Linked DNA regions of Homo sapiens: region 1 is linked to region 2. The links are contacts of gene promoters, found by promoter capture Hi-C in blood cells and fetal thymus (Javierre and others, 2016). All regions are on one chromosome and are shown on one strand. The core of a region is centred on a gene start or on the middle of the fragment in contact, and the rest is flanking DNA. Distances in the headings are between cores, read along the strand shown.

Region 1 (2,804 bases), core at 248-2,747, 150 kb after region 2:
TCACTCGAGTTCAGTTCGAGACCAGCCTGGGCAACATGGTGAAACCCCGTCTGTACAAAAAATGCAAAAAAATTAGCTGGGTGCCCTGGCATGCCCCTGTAGTCCCAGCTACTTGGGAGGCTAAGGCAGGAGAATTGCTTGAGGCTGGGAGGTGGACATTTCAGTGAGCTGAGTTCACACCATTATACTCCAGCCTGGGTGACAGGAGTAAAACCCTGTCTCAAAAACAAAACAAAATAAAAAAAAAAAAACAGCAGGCTGTGCACTGTGGCTCATGCCTGTAATCCCAGCACTTTGAGAGGCCGAGGTGGGAGGATCACCTGAGGTCAGGAGTTTGAGACCAGCCTGGCCAACATGGTAAAACCCTGTCTCTACTAAAAAATACAAAAAAATTAGCTGGGCATGGTGATGTGTGCCTGTAATCCCAGCTACTCAGGAGGCTTGAGGCAAGAGAATTGCTTGAACCCGGGAGGCAGAGGTTGCAGTGAGCCAAGATCGTGCCAAAAAAAAAAAAAAAAACAATAACAGTGCAAGGGAGTTGGGGGTTAGAGGGAGGTGATAGGGGAAGAGAAGGGATTGGAATGGGCAGGAGAGATCATGAGAGGAAGGAGGCAGATTGGAAAGGAAGCCAGGACTGAGGAGGTAAAATGAGGCCAGAAGATGGGAGATGTAACAAGTGGCTTTGGCCCAGACTCGGGGACTGACCTTGGAGGATCCATCCTCAGCTCTGATCTGGATCCTCAAGCTTTGTTTCTCCTACTGGCAGCCCCAGGCCCCACCACCTGTATCCACTCAGGGATCTGCCAGCCAGAAACCTGGATGGACTTCTGTCTCCCACAATCAGTCCACTAGGCCTTTCCTGGGGGCCCAGGGATAAAGGTTCTGTTGTGCTAGGGGCATGGAATTAGATATGGACTTGCCCTTAACATCTCAATGTTACAAGAATCAATCCTTAGACACAGACTGTCACAACACAGTGGTCTGGGGTTCCTATTATGATTAAAAAAAGAGTACAGTGACTGTGGGGCTCAGAGGAGGCACTTCACGCAGCTTGGACATTGGGGATCACTTTCTTCTTGGAGGAGGGGACATTGTTGCTCTGTGGTAAAGAAGGCTCTTTGTGAATGCCAGGCCGGCAACTTTTGATATTATCCAGAGGGCAATTTTTATCAAGAGCTTTGGAAAGATTTTAGGCAGGAAAGGGACATGATCAGATTTGTGCTTTACATATTTATTTATTTAGAGACAGGATCTCACTCTGTCTCCCAGGCGGGAGTACAGTGACCTGATCTTGGCTCATTGCAGCCTTGACCTCCTGGGCTCAGGTGATTCCTCGCCTCAGCCTCAGCCTTGGGTAGCTGGGACTACAGGTGCATGCCACCATGCCTGGCTAATTCTTATATTTTTTTTGTAGAGATGGGGTTTTGCCATGTTGTGTAGGCTGGAGATTTGTGCTTCAGAAGACCACTCTAGCTTCTGAGTGGAGAACAGCTTTAAGGTCAGGGGCAAGAGTAGGGTATAAGGAGGCTGGTGCAGTAGCTCATGCTCCTGGGGGAACCAGAGCCAAGATGCGGACTGTGAGCGTAGAGAGGAGGGATGGAGTCTAGAGAGGTGTAGAAAGTGGGATTGACAGCAAATGGAGTTTTTGTGCAGTTGGCATGGGGCGGGGGACAGTACGGTAGCTAGAGAAGGCATCTATAATGTGGGGGGACTTTTACCTGAGGCCAAAGGAATGAATCTTATGGTGAAATCTGAGGTGCCGTGCAAGGGGATTTTGGGGAACCCTGCTTTATACCATATGAGTTTCTGATCTACTGTCCTATCAGAAAGGGCTTATCCTCCCGTCTCTCAGTACTCTTAGCTCTGGGCACATGGGGAAGTTTGGGGTGAGCTGTGTACCCAGTTTCTCATAGCTCCTGATGTTGCTTGTTGCTGGTGCAGTCGATGAGTGGGGAACTTGTGTGCTGGAATGGGGCTGGCGGTAGGAGTACATGTACCTGATTGTGTGTATGTGTCTGTGTGTATATGTGCGTGTGTGTGTACATGATGGAAGAGACAGTCCCTGCTCTTAGAATCCCACCCCCATCCCTAATCTGAGAGAAGCTCATGAAGACAGGACCAGCAGCCACAATGCCCTAACTCTCTCTTCCTCCTGAGGCCTTCCCCAAACTCTGTATCATTTCTCCCCAGTACCTGTTCCCAACAGTGGTCAGGGTTCAGGGCCCTTGAATCCTTTAGGCTCTCCCAGTCAAGCTTTAGATGGTGGTCCTGTTTTCCTTAAAGTAGCTGAGACTGGGGAGTAGTTTTCAGATTGAATATTCCAGGAAGCAGAGGCAATGCTCTGACTAACTCAACTCAGAGTAACAGCAAGGCAGAAAAATCAAGTAAGGAGACTTGGAGGTTCCTGCGTCTCTCCCATAAGCAGACCTTCCCATGCTCTGTGGCCATGTAGCTCACAGCGTTTTTGCATTCTTTACAGGAAATTTTGTCTTCTGAAAGCCATCACTTATTGTACTTAACTGCATGCCAGATACTGCAGATGTTTTATACACGTTATATTTAGAATTCATATGGCTTGGCATGTTGGCTCACGCCTGTAATCCCAGCACTTTGGCAGGTGAATCACTTAAGGTCAGGAGTTCAAGACCAGCCTGGCCAACATGGTGAAACCCCATCTCTACTAAAAATACAAAAATTAGAGGCCAGGCGTCTGTAATCCCAGCTACTCGGGAGACTGAGGCAGGAGAATTGCTTGAACCTGGGAGGTGGAGTTTGCAATGAGTTGAGACCGCACCATTGCACTC
Region 2 (2,843 bases), core at 74-2,573:
CTCTTGCTCTAGCTGTGGCTCTAGTTCCTCCCTGGCCTGCCTGCAGGGACACATGAGGTAAAGGCCATGGAGTGAACTGGTACTATCTTCTGGCGCCAGGCTGACAAATTTCTCCTCCACCCTCCCCTTTTCAAGGACCTGGAGTCTGCCTGCCTCTCCACAAATGCTAGAGGGGCCCAAATAAGCCACAAGAGTCCAGACTTTCACCCAGGGATTCTAAACCCCACTGCTCTGCCCCCTCCAGTATCTCTCAAACCTGTTTCCACTTCTCCATCTCGAGCTGGTTTCTTCAAAACTTCTGATGCGATGGAACACTCCCTCACTCTGAAAACACACTTCCCCAGGCTTTACTGACACAAATTTTCCTCAATCCCTGACCTAAACATTGTTCCCATGAATCCTGTCCTTGGCTCCCATCTTTTTCTTCATCCCAGATTTTTCTCCTGAGCTCCAGACCCCAATAGAGTACAGTCCACTCCTGAGTTTCCCACAGGCACCTTCAACTCTGAGGGTCCAAAATATGAACTCGCTTCCTCCCTCCATGCTCTGAAACCTGCTTCCTATCCCATGTTCCCTATCTCAGCAAATAGCATGCCCTCAGCTTCAACAGTGACCTTAGTTGGAAATCTGGGAATTATCCCTCCCTTCTCCCTCTGCTGCCTCCTCCTCGGGGAATCCAGTTAATCTCCAGATCCTGTCAGATCATTCAAATCCTCCAGATTTTGCGAAACATCGTCTTGAGTCTACCCTCTCCCCTCCAGGTCAGGGCCCTCCCTTCACTGTCTCCCTTTCCCCAAAGGCTCACCTTCTTCTACCCCTCCCATGCCCCAGGACCACGCTTTTAAGCATGCACATCTGACCAGGCTAGTATGCTGCTGAAACCTTTCAGTGCTCCCCGTCATCTGCAGGAGAAAGACCTGGCCTGGCCGGCAGGCCCTTCAACATCTGGCCCCTCTGATTTTCCCAGCCCTGTCTCTGGAAGCTCCCCGCTCACTGTTTCCACCCTAGCCAGGCAAGTCTCCTCTCACGCACTTCAGCACCCCTCTCCTCCACACTCCCCAAATAGAGAGCTTGTTCTCAGAACAGGTACTGAGGAGAAACACAAGAGAGACTACATGGAAAGGGATTTTGGGAGAACAGGAATAGTAGCACCACCAGGAGAGGCCAGGGCTGGTGTACTGAGCTTCATACCTGCAGGGAGTAGAAACAGAAGCAGAAGGCCCAGGCTGAGGTGGTGGCTCCGGAGCCCCATGGCCCTGGCACTGCAAGAGCGGGGGCAGGTCTCTGGATGTGAGGCCTCCTGGCCAGACCTAGGGCAAAATTAGGCCCAGCTGGCAAGGATGGTGTGGACAGTACCTAGAAGTCAGAAGTAAGACAGATCTCTGGTGGGTCCAGCCACCCTCCAGCGAGCCCTGCAGCCCCTCCAGTCTTCTGACCCTCCAATTTGTGCCTGCCCCTGGATTTTAGTACTTGGTCTTTCTTCTTCTCTGCTGGTCCTTGCCTCTTCTGGCCTCTGCCTCTGCCCTTTCCTATGCTCCCCACCTGCTTTGTCTTTCACTCTGTTTCTGCTTCCTTCTCTTTCCGTCTGTAACTTTCTTGGTCTCTCTGCCTCCCTGACTCTGATCATCCCCTGCCTGCCTCTTTCCACTCTCTCTCCCTTTCTCCTACTTCTGTTTCATCCCTCATTCCTTCCTTCTTCCATTCCCCACACCTGGACTCTAGATGGGCCTGCTGCTCTCTCAGCAGAACAGGGACCAGGGACTCCTCCCTTGATCAGCCCAGAGTCGTCCGAGGCACAGGACCACAGCCCCTCCCTCTCTGCCCTTTCATTAGCTTAATTACACCGTGCCTATGACAACAGAGCAACGGAAACTGATACCTCGGGCCTCTGGGGCTTGAATTATTCAAACTCTGTAAAGCAGCACACAGACTCAGCTCAGGCCCATCCTCGGGTGTTGGAGAGTACAGGTATGCTGGGTCAGGGTATGTGGAAGACCAGGGCTTAAGAGTGTGAGGGGCCAGGGTCAGTGGATGGATAACTGTCCTCTCATCTTAGCCACCATTGCCTGAATTCTGGAGGTGGAGGTTTGCCTTAGACCTGCAGCTCTCCTTGCAGTGCGGGACTAGACACTCCAGGCTAGGCACTTTGGGTCAAGCAAGCCCTTCCCTCCTGGTGGGAGTAGTGCTGAGCCTCAGGCCACTCCAGATGACCCAGTGGAGCAGAAGATGGAGCCCACATCCTCTCCTCAGACTCCCTGCAGTCATTCCCATCTGAGCCTGTTTTTTCACCTTGCCCAAACACTGTGGGCAGTGTGGGAGAAGAGGGCAAGCATTCAGTCACTTTCGGCCCTGTCTTATGAGCGCTCTCACTTGGGTAAGATATTTAAACTCTCTGGGTTTCTGTTCTCTCAATCTGGTAATGGGATTAACAGTACTCATCTTGAAAACTGCAAGGATTTAAATGAGATAACCTGATAGTGCAAGGCACTGTCTAGCACGGTGCCTAAGGTACAGCAGGTCATCAACAATATTTACACTGTGGTCCCAGTAAGGTAGCCAGGCTATCCTCAGGTCACAGGTATTTATCATGCACAGAGTTTTGATTATTTTTGTTCAAGCTGACCAGTTGCCTGACCAACAGCAGCACATACTTCCCTGGCAATCACATCCATAGCCATGACTTTGGGCATCGTGGATATGCCAGTGATTCCCTGCACTTTCTCCACCCGTCCCCTCTCCCAGGTACTCTGCTTATCTCCAACCACCTTCCTAACACACAAGCGTTTCACATCATTTCAAATTGAAATCCAACATTCACTTATTCAAGCTAGTAGAGGGGAACT

The links. Contacts are between HindIII fragments. The CHiCAGO score rates a contact against its expected background, and 5 or more counts as called.
Region 1: a contact is called between a fragment that was not itself captured here and the fragment with the promoter of CHRNA10 in region 2, in 2 of 17 cell types (M2 macrophages and M1 macrophages). The highest score is 5.6, in M2 macrophages.

The regions. Positions count from the first base shown.
Region 1 is chr11:3,817,825-3,820,628 of GRCh38, forward strand. All of the region lies in intron 3 of PGAP2 (post-GPI attachment to proteins 2), which reads left to right. Among named protein-coding and RNA genes, the nearest start is that of PGAP2, 11 kb to the left of the region's middle. RefSeq lists a silencer at 2,135-2,326. The HindIII fragment of the contact is 1,508 bases long and covers 744-2,251 here.
Region 2 is chr11:3,670,061-3,672,903 of GRCh38, forward strand. It overlaps CHRNA10 (cholinergic receptor nicotinic alpha 10 subunit), which reads right to left and starts at 1,324. Exons shown (of 5, transcript NM_020402.4): 1 at 1,192-1,324. The coding sequence starts at 1,252. The HindIII fragment of the contact is 7,798 bases long and covers 1-2,843 here.